2 separate regions of the Homo sapiens genome follow, and region 2 is linked to region 1. Evidence: promoter capture Hi-C in human tissues and cell types (Jung and others, 2019). All regions are on one chromosome and are shown on one strand. Each heading gives the region's core, a stretch centred on a gene start or on the middle of the fragment in contact. The rest is flanking DNA. Distances are from core to core; before and after follow the strand shown.

Region 1 (7,101 bases), core at 2,667-5,166:
GACTTGCTTAGGTAGCAAAATAAGAAACTACACAAAAAGATAGTAAGGCCAAAAAAGATTGTATAGTATTCAGAATGGACAGAAGAAACTATCTTTGCCCATCCTACATCTATATGGCCCAAAACTAAGAATCACGTGGATTGGCGATATTAAATAAGCGAAAGCAGGATGAATAAAAAAATTCTGTGAAATACAGGTCTCACAAATCTCCAATGCAGATCCTGTGGGTAAGAGACAAGAGCCAACTATTTCAGGGTGAAAAAGATCAGTTAGAAACCTATTAATATATAAAAGTTAAAGGAATTACAGTATGAAAAATGTAAAGAATGACTGGCAGTCCCACTGCCTTCACGAATGACTATGCCAAAAAGGGAAAAGAGTTTAACTTGAAAATAAATTATACTAAATGTTCAAGGACTAACATTTAATAAGGGAGAAGAGTGATATGGTAGGGAAAGCTTTGTGCCAACTTTCAACTGCAGCTGTAGTGAAATACACTAAAAGCCTTGTCTTAAGACAAAAGCAGTAAAATAAAAACAATGGTTTTAAACATATCCCCAGTGTCAACTGCTCATGACCATAAATTTGCCTTTTTCTAATGAACAACTAATGGGATAAAAGGCCATATAAGGGAAAAAGTAGTCGAAAATACAATCGAACAAACTTCTCACACAAGACTAAACCATAAAACCTGTTTACAAATTTTCATACATGTCAGAATTAAAGGTAAAAACACTCAAAGCTTAAGAAATCTAACATCACAAAGCACGAGATTAAATCATTCTTTTAAACAAGGACTGAAGTTCAGAAGCATTTAATTTAAATCAGTGTATTAACACAAGGAATCCTTCCATACTTCCTATTTCAGAGAGGGTTCTCCACACTCCTTTCCCAGACTTATGCACAAATATTACAACTTGCAACCCATTATTTTCTCTCATGTACAAGTTTTGTTTTGTTTTGTTTTGTTTGCTCTTGTTTTTAACTTTATTGGAGTGAGATTATTCTAACTAGTACCCATTTATTTATTTTAAATATCGGTTGTACCAAACAATGACACTTTTTGGAAATCAAACTTTATTCCACTAACATTAGCCAGCAGATTTTGCTAAACAATGTTTTGTCAGAAAAGGCATCATGGCCGGGCGCAGTGGCTCACGCCTGTAATCCCAGCACTTTGGGAGGCAGAGGCGGGTTGATCACAGGGTCTGGAGTTCGAGACCGGCCTGGCCAATATGGTGAAACCCCATCTCTACTAAAAATACAAAAATTAGCTGGGCGTGGTGGCGTGCGCCTGTAGTCCCAGCAGCTTGGGAGGCTGAGGCAGGAGAATAGCTTGAATCTGGGAGGCGGAGGTTGCAGTGAGGCGAGATCGCGCCACTGCACTCCAGCCAGGGTGACAGAGCGAGACTCCGTCTCAAAAAAAAAAAAGAAAGGTATCACATACATTCAATTTTGTACAACTAATTTTTCCAGTATGCATAAAAATTTATATTTGACAACAGAGAATATGCTTCATCATAAACACAGCAATATCTTTTCCACTTTGTTACTAATAAGTTGCATGTTTTCTTAGTAATTTTAAATACCTCCATCTGAAAAGTATAGGGTAGGCTGACCACAAAAGATGAAGCCTAACAGTTGGTAGGGGTACCGCACTTACATAATATTCTAAAAACGTGCTTTTCCTAGGTACTCAGTGACTATATACAGTAGTGAATATTAAACATTCCTGTATCAATCCCATTTCCTACAAAGTTGACCTAATTTCAAGCATAAAACTGAGGTTTCCACCTTTAGAAGGGTAGAAAACAAGAGTTAAGTAATTGGGTAGTCCTAAAAATACACATCACAACTACATGACTAAGATACTCATTTAAAACTTGTGCCAAGATAACCCCTCCCTTCCAAACTAAAATTGACTCACTGGCCTATTTTACTTAATTTTGAAAATAAAAAAATAAAACTAAATGGATTCCTAAGCACTCATTTCCTCTCTCTGCCCCCATCATTTAAAATATTCAGACTTTCAATCTGTGATTCCTCCCTGCAAAAACACTCAAGTAAAAACAAAACAAAACAAACACTCATTATCTCCAAGTTAACTACCTTGGAGTTAAAAAAAAATCATTAGATTCTGGAATGATAACCACTGTTCTAAGACCATATAAAACAACAGAAACAATGTCTGTGGTCGCTAAGGAACCATACATCCCACCCAGAGAAACGATCTCGCCTCAGATGATACTTGTCATCTGTGAGACCACCCCTTTAGCTAGAGTTAACCACTTGAGCAGGTTTCAATTTTGTCTCTGAAAGTAGGAAGCTATCAGTCTCCCTACATGACTCGTTCCACCCTTTGTGGATACTTCTACCTGTAGAAAAAAAGGTTGGCAAACTTGGTGGCATGGTGAGGACAAAGGGCATTTTGAAAGAACCAGTGACTGAGGTAAGCAGAGAATGTGAACGGAAAGAGGGTTAAAGTTCCCCCAAATGGATAATGACAAGACGACGCGGGCACCCTTTTTTTTTTTTTTTTTTTTTTTACCACCCCTAGGGTCCCATTCTTCACCACCACCCATTGGAATGCAAAGTTGGCACTACCACTACCCAAGATGCCCAACAAATCCTCAAAATGTCAGGGCACTCGGCAGCTTCTGAAATGACAAGCTGGTGCCCCTCCCCCACCCCACCCCCACCCCCACCCCCCAAAAAAGAAAAGTCCAATCCAGTCGGTGCAGGTCACCCTGCCCTCTGGGGCAGTTCCAGCCTGCGCAGGGAGGGGTTCCGACCGGAGAACGAAAAAGCACAGATAGACCACCGCTCTTTCCACCCACCCTCAGCGGGGGAAACAAAGGCGGCCTCCTCCGCCCGTAGACACTACCCTAACCAGAGAGGCTCTCCGATTTCCCGGTGCAGCCTGCCCTCCCGCCCCCGCCCGAGCCCCCGCCCCCATGACAAAGAAAAGGCACTCGGCGAGCAAGGCCTTCCTGCCTCCAGGGATGGGGGAGGGGGCTGCACGGGTGAGAAGCCCCCTCCACTCGCCCGTGCTCATACTCCTGGTCCCAGGAACTGCAGAAAGCGGCGGGGAGCCGGAGGCCTCGGCCGCGGAAGCAGGGTCCGGGAGGAGGGTGAGGGTACCTTGAAGTAGCCGCCTTCGTAGAGGGTGTTGGGGGGTCCGAAGATGGCCACCTCCCAGTTGTAGAGGTCGGACTCGTCCACCAGGGTGATCCGGAAGCCCTCCACCGGTTCCTCCTGCAGGGATTTCAGCTCGAGCATCAGGGCCTTCTGCGAGCTGGTCATCTGCTGCTGGGCCATCGCGGCGGCGGCGGCGGCGGCGGCGCCGGGCCCGGGCCCCAGTCCTCACGCACCGGCCGGGCCGGACCAGGCCCCTCCCCTCCGCTCGCCCTCCGGCCGGGCAGCACCGGGCCCCGGTCTTCACACACCCGGCGGGCCAGACCAGGCCCCACACGGCCCGTGGGCCCGCCCGGGGTCCTCCTCACACACGACGCAGGCCGGGCCGGGCCCTTCTCCTCACACTCGGGCCGGGCGAGAGGAGAGGTCGAGGGAGTTAGGAGAATTCGCTACGGGTCCCGGTCCCGGGCCTCCCCCCCCCGGAGGGGGCCTCAACTTGGGGGGGGGGAGAGGAGGTGGAAGCGGAGGAAGGCGGCGGAGGGCCGGCGATGGTGAAGGGAGGGGGCCGGGCCGGCCCGGGAACGCCGCGCTCGCTCGCCCTCTCGTTCTCTTCGGGGGCCGCAGGGGCCGGAGGGCGCGCGGGGCAGGAGAGGGTGGGGGGAGAGCGGCGTGCGGGGGTCTCGCGGCGGTGGCGGCGGGGGCTGCGCGGGGGGAGGGGCGACGGCGGAGGAGGAGGAGAGCGAGAGCGCCTCGCGCCGCGGGAGCAACGGAGCCGAGAAGCAGGGAGGGAGGGAGGGAGGGAGAGAGGGAGGAGGGGCGCACGCCGGGTGCTGGGCGGCTCTCAGCGGCTGGCGGCCCGACGCGCGTGCGCGTGCCCCTCCCTCCCCTCCCCCCACCGTGCCTGGCTCTCCTCCACTACCACCTCCTCCTCCTCCCGTTTCCACGCCTCCTCTCGGTCTCCCGCGCGGTCGCGGCGCTTTGTGACGCTGGCGCGTGTCCCCCGCCCATAAAGATCCCAGAAGCAGCGGGGACCAAGGGCGGGCGCAGGGATTGCCGTGGCCCCAGAGTGACGGTTGTGCGGCTGGACGCCGCAGTTCCAAAGGCGTGCCCGGGAAGGGAACCCAGGTCTCCCGGCTCTCGGGGCCCTCCCCACTGTGGATCCAGGGGCCTCCGCAGCCATCCTGGGACGGGCCTGGTCGCTGCAGGCCCCTCCCCGTGACACCCAGTCTGCGGTCCCTCCACTTAGTAGCTACTTGATTAGGATGTGCTGACAATGTGGGTCTTTTCGGTGGGAACAGACCTTCCCGCAGGCCAGCCCACAGGCAAGTGTGCCCTTTGGCACGTTACTCACCCTGGGTGCGGCAGTTCCACGTGAGAAACGGGGTGAGACAAAAAGGTCAGCTTCTGCTTCCCTTCTTAACTACAAAGAGGAAGTTGTGAGGAAAAAGACAATAACAAACTGGGTCTCTAGCCCTTCTCATTGTGATTTGGGGCAAGTGCTCAGGCTGCCCTTCGCCTTCGCCATTTGTAAAATAAACTACTGTGGTTGAACTTAGGGGTCAAAGTTCCCTATAGGTGCTTGTGGCTTGAATGTCCACCCTGGAACTGAGGGACTTTCGAGATAATCATAACCGAAGTGAGATGTGGGGACAGTCTTTGGTCCCCCCGTGGTTCAGAATACAGTACTCCTTTCTCCTAGGAAGGCATGTCCTAGGATAACTGCCTAAAAAACATTTCCTAGAAAAGCCAGAATATTGTGAGAGTTCTACACACACAGTTTCGGAACTAGACAGATCTTGGTTCCAACCCTAGTTCCATTACTTCTCCCTGTATCATCAGTTTTTTGTTTTTTGGTTTTGTTTTGTTTGAGACAGGGTCTTGCTCTGTCACCCAGGCTGTAGCACAGTGGCGCGATCATGGCCCACTGCAACCTCCGCCTCCCAGGTTCAAGCGATTCTCCCACCTCAGCCTCCCAAGTAGCTAGGACTACAGGTGCATGCCTCCACACCCGGCTGTTTAATCAGCTTCTGTAAAAGGGGATTAATTATACCCAACACAAGCAATTGTAATGATTAAATGTATGTACAGCATTTAGCGTAGTGACTGGCACATGGTTAATGATTCATAGAAACTTGAAAGAAAAAAACTTTAAGGCATAGCTGTATTCTGGATACCACCACTACCCACCCCTTTTATTGAGACAGGGTCTTACTCTGTTGCCCAGGCTGGAGTACAGTAGAGTGATTATAGCTCACTCTAGCAGTAACCTCCTGGGCTTAAGCCATCCTCTAACCTCAGTCTCCCAAGTAGCAGGACCACAGGTGTGCACAGCCATGCCCAGCTAATTTTTGTATTTTTAGTAGAGACGGGATTTCACCATGTTGGCGAGGCTGGTCTCCAACCCTTGACCTCAGGTGATCCGTCCACCTCAGCCTCCCAAAGTGCTGGGATTACTGGCGTGAGCCACTGTGCCCAGCCAAGGACAGTTTTAGATTTATAGAAAAATTGAAAAGATAGTCAAGTTCCCCTACACCTGGCGCCCAGTTCCCCCTTTTATTAACATATTACATTAGTAGAGTACATGTATTACAATTAATGAGCTAATATTGATACATCACTGTTGACTGAAGCTCATACTTCCCTAATTTTTACCTACTGACCTTTTGCTGTTCCAGGATCTCATCCAGGATACCAGACTACATTCAGTTTTCCTGTTTCTGTAGATTCCTCTTGACTGTGGCAGTTTCTTAGACTTTGTTCTGATGACCTTAACAGTTTTGAAGAATACTGGTCAAGTATTTTGTAGACTGTCCCTCAATTGGGATTGTGATGCTTTTCTCATGATTAGACTGGGATTATGAGTTTTTGAGGGTAAGATCACAGAGGTGAAATGCCATTTCATCACATCATATTAAGGGCACAAATAGCAACATGACTTAGCAATGTTGATGTTGACCTTGATTGTCTGGCTGAGGAAGTGTGTCAAGTCTTTCTACTGTAAAGTTACTCTGCCCCTTCCTCCCCTTTTCTATACTGTACTCTTTGGAATGGAGTCACTCTACACAATCCACACTTAAGCAGCCCCCCCTCCTTTTTTTTTGGCCTTTTTTTTCCTGTAAAAGACGAGGTCTCAGTGTTTTAAAACATCCTTTTCTAGCCGCCAACGCTACTGTCCAGGTCTTGAGACCGAACTCTACTGGAATTAGAGCTCCCCTCAGAGAAGAGGGAGTATCCTAGTGAATGCAGCCCCTCTTATCAAAATGATGGTTTATGTCCCATTCTGTCTTTCCCTCCAGTACCAGTCAATTTAGGGACAAGAGGATTGCTGACCCGGAAATGTGAAAGATGATGTTGACACCTTTAATAGCAAGGCGGTGAGCAGATAAATAGGTAGAAAGGTCATCTTCAAAGCATTTCACCCACAAAAACTCATCACAGCCCCACCCTGACCTGGAGGGTGATGAAGCCCTAGTCTAACCCACTGGAACGTATACCTGGCACTCAGACCAGAAGCGGCCCCCTGGGCTCATGTCAACTCACAAACTCACTAAGCATCCACTGCGGGCATGCCTCTATGCTGGGAGGTTGGAAGCTCAATGCGTTAATGAGTTTTATAATCAAGGCTGTTTATTCTCAGGTCACAGGAACTGGAATTCCACAGAACTAGCTCATGTGTTTTTATTCTAGCCAGTAAGACATTGTTTATTAGTAGACTGCCACTGTGTCTTATTCATGCCTGAATCCTCAGCAACAGGCACACCATCTGACACAAAGTAGACACTAAGTAATTGTTCTCAAGAGACTCATGGCCAAGGACAGGAAGACAATGAGTAATCACAAAATCACAAATTGAACCCTACCCTCTATCCCCATGCCTATCTGTTCTCTCAAGCACATAGTAGGTGCTCAAGACTATAAATTCCAAAACTCTACACCAGCTACTCCAATGTTTGGCACATATTAAGT
Region 2 (7,101 bases), core at 3,165-5,664, 250 kb before region 1:
TGCCTTCTAAAGGCTTTCCAAGCACAGGCAGGTACAAGATTGGAGAGCCCCAGAGTCTTATGGGAGATTTGGGGCCAATGAATCCATCATATACCCAGTAGGGGGAGCCAGAGCTTAGCTCCTCGCTTCTGGAGATCCCTCTCCTGCATAAATTCCACATGGAGTGTGGAGAAAACAAAGATATGCACAAAAATGTCTTTTAAAGGGACTGCGGAGAGAGGAAGGTAGCTGTAGTGTGAAAGAGTTTTTTGTTTTTGTTTTGAGACAGGGTCTTGCTGTGTTGCCCAGGCTGGAGTGGAGTGGCCCCATCTTGGCTCACTGCAGCCTCAACCTCCTGGTCACTCAAGCAATCCTCCCACCTCAGCCTCCTGAGTAGCTGGGACTACAGGCATGCACTACCCTGCATGGCTAATTTTTTTTTTTTTTTTTTTAGAGACAGGATTTTCTTTATTGCTCAGGCTGGTCTCAAACTCGAAGGAGTTTTTGGGGTTTTATTTCACTTTATTGAGGTTTTCAGAGTAGCAATCCTTGAATCAAGCTTCCCTCTGCATTTATCTGCAGATTTGATTTACAAAGATGTGAGCATACAGCTTCTCAGAAGTGTGTGTGTTTTGTTTAAAGCCAAATAGATCTTATTGTGGAAGGAATGGAATGTTGCCACTGGATCACTGGATCACCAAATTCAATAAATTGAGGTGGGGTGCGGTGGCTCATACCTAACCTCAGCGCTTTGGGAGATTGAGGTAGGAGGATTGCTTGAGGCCAGGAGCTCAAGACCAGCCTAGTCAACATACCAAGACCTCATCTCTATTAAAAAAAGAATTTAAAAATCACTACAAGTGGCACGTACCTGTAGTCCCAGCTACTTAGGAGGCTGAGATGGGAGGATCGCTTGAGCACAAGAAGTTTGGGGCTGTAGTTAGCTATGATTGCACCACTGCACTTCAGCCTGGATGACAGAGCCAGATCCTATCTGAAATAAATAAATAGAGCATTGGAGGAGTTAGGTAGGAGGCAGCTTAGAGAAAGAGCACTGGATCTGAGGTTGAAGCTCCCAGTTAAATCCTGTTTCTAATCATTAACCAGCTTTTGACTGCAGGCAGGTAACTAAATCTCTTGGCTGACTGTGAACTTCTGCAACATAAAACGTGACGGTGTTTACAGAGCACAGCTGTAAAGCATTCTTAGGGCTCCCTGAGTCATCGGCTGAGCTCTTACAGTCCAGGAGAGATGGCAGAACTCCCTCACTTAAAGTCAGGCCAAATAATTTTGACTCTGAAGCACCAGAAACAGGGGGAGGTAACTTTTACACCAAGCTCCAAGCCCTCAAGCCTCCAGCCAGGCCTTTACCCAATCCTGAACCATTAACCTCTGTACTCCCCCTGGTTGTAGCCTACCCTATATAACCACAGTGAGGCAAGACACCCAGCCATATTGCCTGCATGAGGAATAAGCCATGTGTGGCCTTTCCCCGGGACTCAGGGGACCTGAGCAACCTGGAGGAAGAAACTGAAACCTGGGCTCTCAGATATTGCTGGGAGGCAGCTTCTCAGAGAACACCGGGAGCTCTGCTAGGATCTGAGCTGACACAGTTGGATGGAGGCCCCAAGAAACAGGCATTGGTGCTCTTTGGAGATGTCCTTTCAGGCAGAAGTAGCCACTATGCTGACCAAGAAAGAGGTGACTTGAGTGTTAGCTTTGCCCCACAGGCACGGTCTCAGCTCCTAAAAGTCCAGTTTGGCTCTATCTGTATTTGAAGGAAGGTGTCGACTTGTGTTTTCCTTGAGATCTCTCCCCTCCTCAGGTCTCTTTCTTACCATCAGTAGCCAGCTGTGGCTACAGCTGAGGACAGGAATTTTCTGCAGGGGCTATTCAGCAGGGCATGTCAGGGCCTGCAGGAACTGGTTTAACTTGCTTCTGAGAGTCTTGACTCTGCCTCAGACTCCTTTGGCTTTAGGGTAGGGAGGTGATTCTAGAGGTAGGGAGAGCAGGAGACAGGATACAGCCAAAGGGATCTGTCAAGTCAAAGAGGTCCCTGGAGAGGTGACTTTTTGCTCCACAGAAGGAGGAGAGGGCCTCCCAGGCTTCCACTAAACTATCTGCTCATAGGTCCCAAGACTCCAGCTTCTCTCTTCCTTGTTTTTTTTTTTTTTAATTTTTTGAGGCAGAGTCTCGCTCTGCCACCCAGGCTGGAGTGCAGTGGTGCGATCTCACCACTTTACTCCAGCCTGGGCGACAAAGTTAGACTCCATCTCAAATAATAATAATAATAATAATAATAATAAATAAAGTGATGATAGGTGTGCTTCCATGTACCCCTCCAGATCTACTCTCTGCCCTACTGGGTACTCCTGGTCTATCAGTAGGCCTTCTTGTCCTCTGCCTTCTGGTTAAATTCTCCCAATGGAGATTAGGAGGAAAGAGGATTGGGACAAGAGGTTATTTATGGCCGGGCACCGTGGCTCATGCCTGTAATCCCAGCACTTTGGGAGGCTGAGGTGGGGAGATCACCTGAGGTCAGGTGTTCGAGACCAACCTGGCCAACATGGCGAAACCCCATCTCTACTAAAAATATAAAAATTAGCTGGGCATGGCAGCGCGTGCCTTTAGTCCCAGGTACTTGGGAGACCGAGGCAGAATTGCTTGAACCCGGGAGGCGGAGGCTGCAGTGAGCCAAGATCGTGCCACTGCACTCCAGCCTGGGCGACAGAGTGAGACTCCGTCTCAAAAAAAAAAAGAGGTTATTTATTTTCCACTGACACCCCACCTTCCTAAAAGTGGAGTCACTGCAGACCCCTGTCAGGTGACCCTTCTCATTTGTTTGCTGCTCCCTTCCTGTTGTCCCCTGAAGCCCAATAGTGATCAGGTTTCCACACTGTCACTGGCCCTCGGGCACTGTAACATCTCTCGTTGTCGTTATTAAACTCTCCTCAATTATCCATCTATTTCTTGCTGGGGACCTGATAAATAAGGACATGTATCTTACTACAGATTGCCATCTAACCTGGCTCTGTCATTTGTCTGTAGGATCTCAGTAAGTTACCTAACCTCTCTGAGCTTCGGTTTTCTCATATGTAAAATATTGCAGGAAGAGGAGGTGTGCTCTAAAGTCATTTTTCGCTCTTAGAATCTTTGGTTCTAAGGTGATAAAAGGTGATAATAATTCTAACTCCTATGGAATTCAACCAGGAGGATTGGGCCTGAATGGAAACGTAGGTAAGATTATTCCACTGGGCATTTGGGCTGGAGGAAGGTGCATGCTCAAAATATCCCAGAGTTAAGAGTAGGGAAAAAAGCAAGAAATACCGCCATCTGTACTGCATGTGTATTTATTTGAAACATGATCCTTTCCAAGAAATTCTGCAGAGTTGTGGTGGGAATCAGCTTTTATTTTATCTTCAGCTCTGTTTGTATTTGTCTTCTCTTGTTAGAAAAAAAAATGTCAGAAAAATCTTTCTCCTGGTGTTTTTTTCTCAGTCTCTTTCTATTAATAGTGCCTCTAGGTTTCTCTCTGTATTTCTGTTTCTTTCTGTTTTTGTTTCTCTCCATGAAACAAAGAAAAAAAGAAAAAGACATTTTCCCCTAGGACCCTCCCAAGAGGGAAGAATCAGAAAGTTTCTAAACCAGGCACCTAGCAGGTTTACAAATGACTCAGCCAGAACTGACCAGCACCTGGGCCTGCCAGTTAGAGGAAAAGAGTCCCAGATGCCGGGAAGCTTTGGCCCCAGAGAAGTTTTCCCAGACTGAGTGAGGCAAAGGCTGACAATTACTTCTTTTTTTTTTTAATTTTTTTGAGATGGAGTCTTGCTCTGTCACCCAAGCTGGAGTGCAGTGGTATGATCTCAGCTCACTGCGACCTCTCCCTCCTGGGTTCAAGCGATTCTCCTGTCTCAGCCTCCTGAGTAGCTGGGATTACAGGTGTGCACCACCACACCCAGCTAATTTTTGTATTTTTAGTAGGGATGGTGTTTTACCATGTTGGCCAGGTTGGTCTCAAACTCCTGACCTCAGGTGATCTGCCCACTTCGGCCTCCCAAAGTGCTGGGATTACAGGCATGAGCCACTGCCCGGCCTGATAATTACTTTTAACTTTACTTTTTTTTTTTTTTTTGAGACAGAGTCTTGCAGTGGTGCGATCTCAGCTTACTGCAACCTCTGCCTCCTGGGTTCAAGCAATTCTCCTACCTCAGCCTCCTGAGTATCTGGGATTACAGGTGTGCGCCACCATGCCCGGCTAATTTTTGTATTTTTTGTTTGTTTGTTTGCTTAGTAGAGATGGGGTTTCACCACGTTGGCCAGGCTCGTCTCAAACTCTCGACCTCAAGTGATCCGTCTGCCTTGGCCTCCAAAAGTGCTGGGATTACAGGAGTGAGCCACCACACCCGGCCTTTTAACTTTACATTTTGGAATGAATCAACTTTGGACAGAATCCACCTGGATGTTTCTTGCATCACCCAGGTGACTTATACCTGTGATTTCAGGAAAAGTGCTCATAAACCAGAGACGGAGGCTGAGGTTCTCTTTTACTGGAGTCAGAGATGGCACTAGGATTTTTAGAGCTGGAAGGATGTCAAAGATTATTTACAATAAAACCTCTTTGTTTTACAAAGTGAAGGAACTAAGATGCAGAGATAGAAAGAGTCTTGCCCAAGGTCACACAGTAAATTAATAGTAGAGGCTAACAATAGCTAAAAGGTACGGAATGTTAGCCTCTGCCATACGTCATTTTCATATATTCACATTTAATCCCCTTAATGACTCTATGGAGGAAGCATTAGTATCATCTCATTTTACAGATGAAGAAACTGAGGCCCAGAGAGATAAAGTAACTTGCCTGCACTGGAGTCAGAGTTCTCCACTACTTCACTCTCCACTTCCAGCATTATATTGTAGGTTGATGTAGCTTGATATATCCTGTAACTTTATTTTATTTTATTTATTTTTTGTTTTGTTTTTTGAGACAGGTTTCTCTCTGTCGCCCAGGCTGGAGTGCAGTGGTGCAATGTTTGCTCACTACAACCTCTGCCTCCTGGGTTCAAGCAATTCTCCTGCCTCAGCCTTCCAAGTAGCTGGGATTACAGGTCCACATCACCATGACCGACTAATTTTTGTATTTTTAGTAGAGGCAGGGTTTTGACAAGTTGGCCAGGCAGGTCTTGAACTCTTGACCTCAAGTGATCCAACAGCCTTGGCCTCCCAAAGTGCTGGGGTTGTAGGTGTGAGCCACCACGCCCGGCCATATCCTGTAACTTTAAATAGGCTGTGGTAGGGATATTTATGCCACAGAAATCAGCACATGCTACATATTAGGGCTTGTTTTGTTGATTGTTGAGTTTTTTATTGTGTGGTGTTTTTTGTTGCTGTTTTGTTTTGTTTGTTTTGAGACAGGGTCTTGCTCTGTCACCCAGCTGGAGTGCACTGGCACAATCATGGCTCACTGCAGCCTTGACCTCCCCAGGTTCAGGTGGTCCTCCCAGGTCAGTCTCCTGAATAGTTGGAACTACAGGTGTGCACCACCATGCCCAGCTAATTTATATATATATATATATATAAAATTTTTTATAGATAGGGTTTCCCCATGTTGCCCAGGCTACTCTCAAACTCCTAGGTTCAGGCAGTCGTCCACTGGGACTACAGGCATGTGCCACCACACCTGGTTAATTTTTAAATTTCTTGTAGAGACACGGTCTCACCATGTTGCTAACTTTTGTATTTTTAGTGGAGATGGGGTTTTGCCATGTTGCACAGGCTGGTCTCAAACTCCTAGCCTCAAAGGATCCGCCTGCCTTGGCCTCCCAAAGTGTTGGGATTACAGAAGTGAGCCACTGCACCCAGCGTGAGCTTTTAAGGCCCCAGCACCTGTTGGAGGTACATTCCACCTAAGCCTGGGGACCTTGGCTGAATGCATCTCTAGGCTGTTTAGGAACTGACTTCTTTTTTTTTATTTACTTATTATTATTTTTTTTAGATGGAGTCTTGCTCTCTCCTAGGCTGGAGTGCAACGGCGCAATCTCGGCTCACCGCAACCTCTCCTTCCTGGGTTCAAGCGATTCTCCTGCCTTAGCCTCCCGAGTAGCTGGGATTATAGGCACCTGCCACTGTGCCCAGCTAATTTTTTGTATTTTTTTAGTAGAGATGAGGTTTCCCCATGTTGGCCAGGCTAGTCTCGAACTCCTGACCTCAGGTGATCCACCTGCCTCAACCTCCCAAAGTGCTGGGATTACAGGTGTGAGCCACCACTCCCGGCCAGGAACTCTCTTCTTACTCATACTTCAGAAACCAGGAAAGTCTTCCCCTGATACCTGCCATGGTCACTGATGGCCCCTACTGAAGGTGCAGCCCTGGGCAGGTCACATGACCTGCTACGACCACCAACCTCAGCTGACTGGACCAGGGTGAAAATCTCCATATCCTAGAGTGACCATTGACCCATAGTATTATCTGGCTTGAAAAATTGAGCTAAGCTCTTTTTTTTTTTTTTTTTTTTTTGAGACGGAGTCTCCCTGTTTTACCCAGGCTGGAGTGCAGTGGCGCAATCTCGGCTCACTGCAAGCTCCGCCTTCCGGGTTCACGCCATTAGCCTGCCTTAGCCTCCCAAGTAGCTGGGACTACAGGCGCCTGACATCACCCCTGGCTAATTTTTTTGTATTTTTTTAGTAGAGACGGGGTTTCACTGTGTTAGCCAGGATGGTCTCCATCTCCTGACCTCGTGATCTGCCCTCCTCGGCCTCCCAAAGTGCTGGGATTACGGGCTTGAGCCACCACACCCAGCCCCCTTTTTTTTTTTTTTTTTTTTTTTTGAGACGGAGTCTCACTCTGTCGCCCAGGCTGGAGTGCAGTGGTGCAATCTCAGCTCACTGCAACCTCTGCGTTCCAGGTTCAAGTGATTATCCTGCCTCAGCCTCCCGAGTAGCTGGGACTACAGGCGTGCACCACCATGCCTGGCTACTTTTTGTATTTTTAGTAGAGACGGGGTTTCACCATGTTGGCCAAGCTGGTCTCAAACTCCTGACCTCATGATCTGCCCACCTCAGCTCCCAAAGTGCTGGGATTACAGGCGTGAGCCACCATGCCCAGCCTGAAAAGTTGAGCTCTTTAAGA

The links. Contacts are between HindIII fragments. The study calls those that stand out against the background at their distance.
Region 2: a fragment that was not itself captured here is called in contact with the fragment with the promoter of UBE2R2 in region 1 in 4 of the 25 tissues and cell types used here (IMR-90 fibroblasts, dorsolateral prefrontal cortex, hippocampus and 1 more).

The regions. Positions count from the first base shown.
Region 1 is chr9:33,813,975-33,821,075 of GRCh38, reverse strand. UBE2R2 (ubiquitin conjugating enzyme E2 R2) reads right to left here and starts at 3,916. Exons shown (of 5, transcript NM_017811.4): 1 at 3,142-3,916. The coding sequence starts at 3,318. It overlaps UBE2R2-AS1 (UBE2R2 antisense RNA 1), which reads left to right and starts at 2,208. Exons shown (of 5, transcript NR_170204.1): 1 at 2,208-2,449. RefSeq lists silencers at 3,297-3,466, 3,537-3,746, 3,927-4,026 and an enhancer at 4,317-4,406. The HindIII fragment of the contact is 14,786 bases long and covers 1-7,101 here.
Region 2 is chr9:34,067,387-34,074,487 of GRCh38, reverse strand. No RefSeq gene overlaps it. Among named protein-coding and RNA genes, the nearest start is that of UBAP2, 22 kb to the right of the region's middle. The HindIII fragment of the contact is 4,573 bases long and covers 2,128-6,700 here.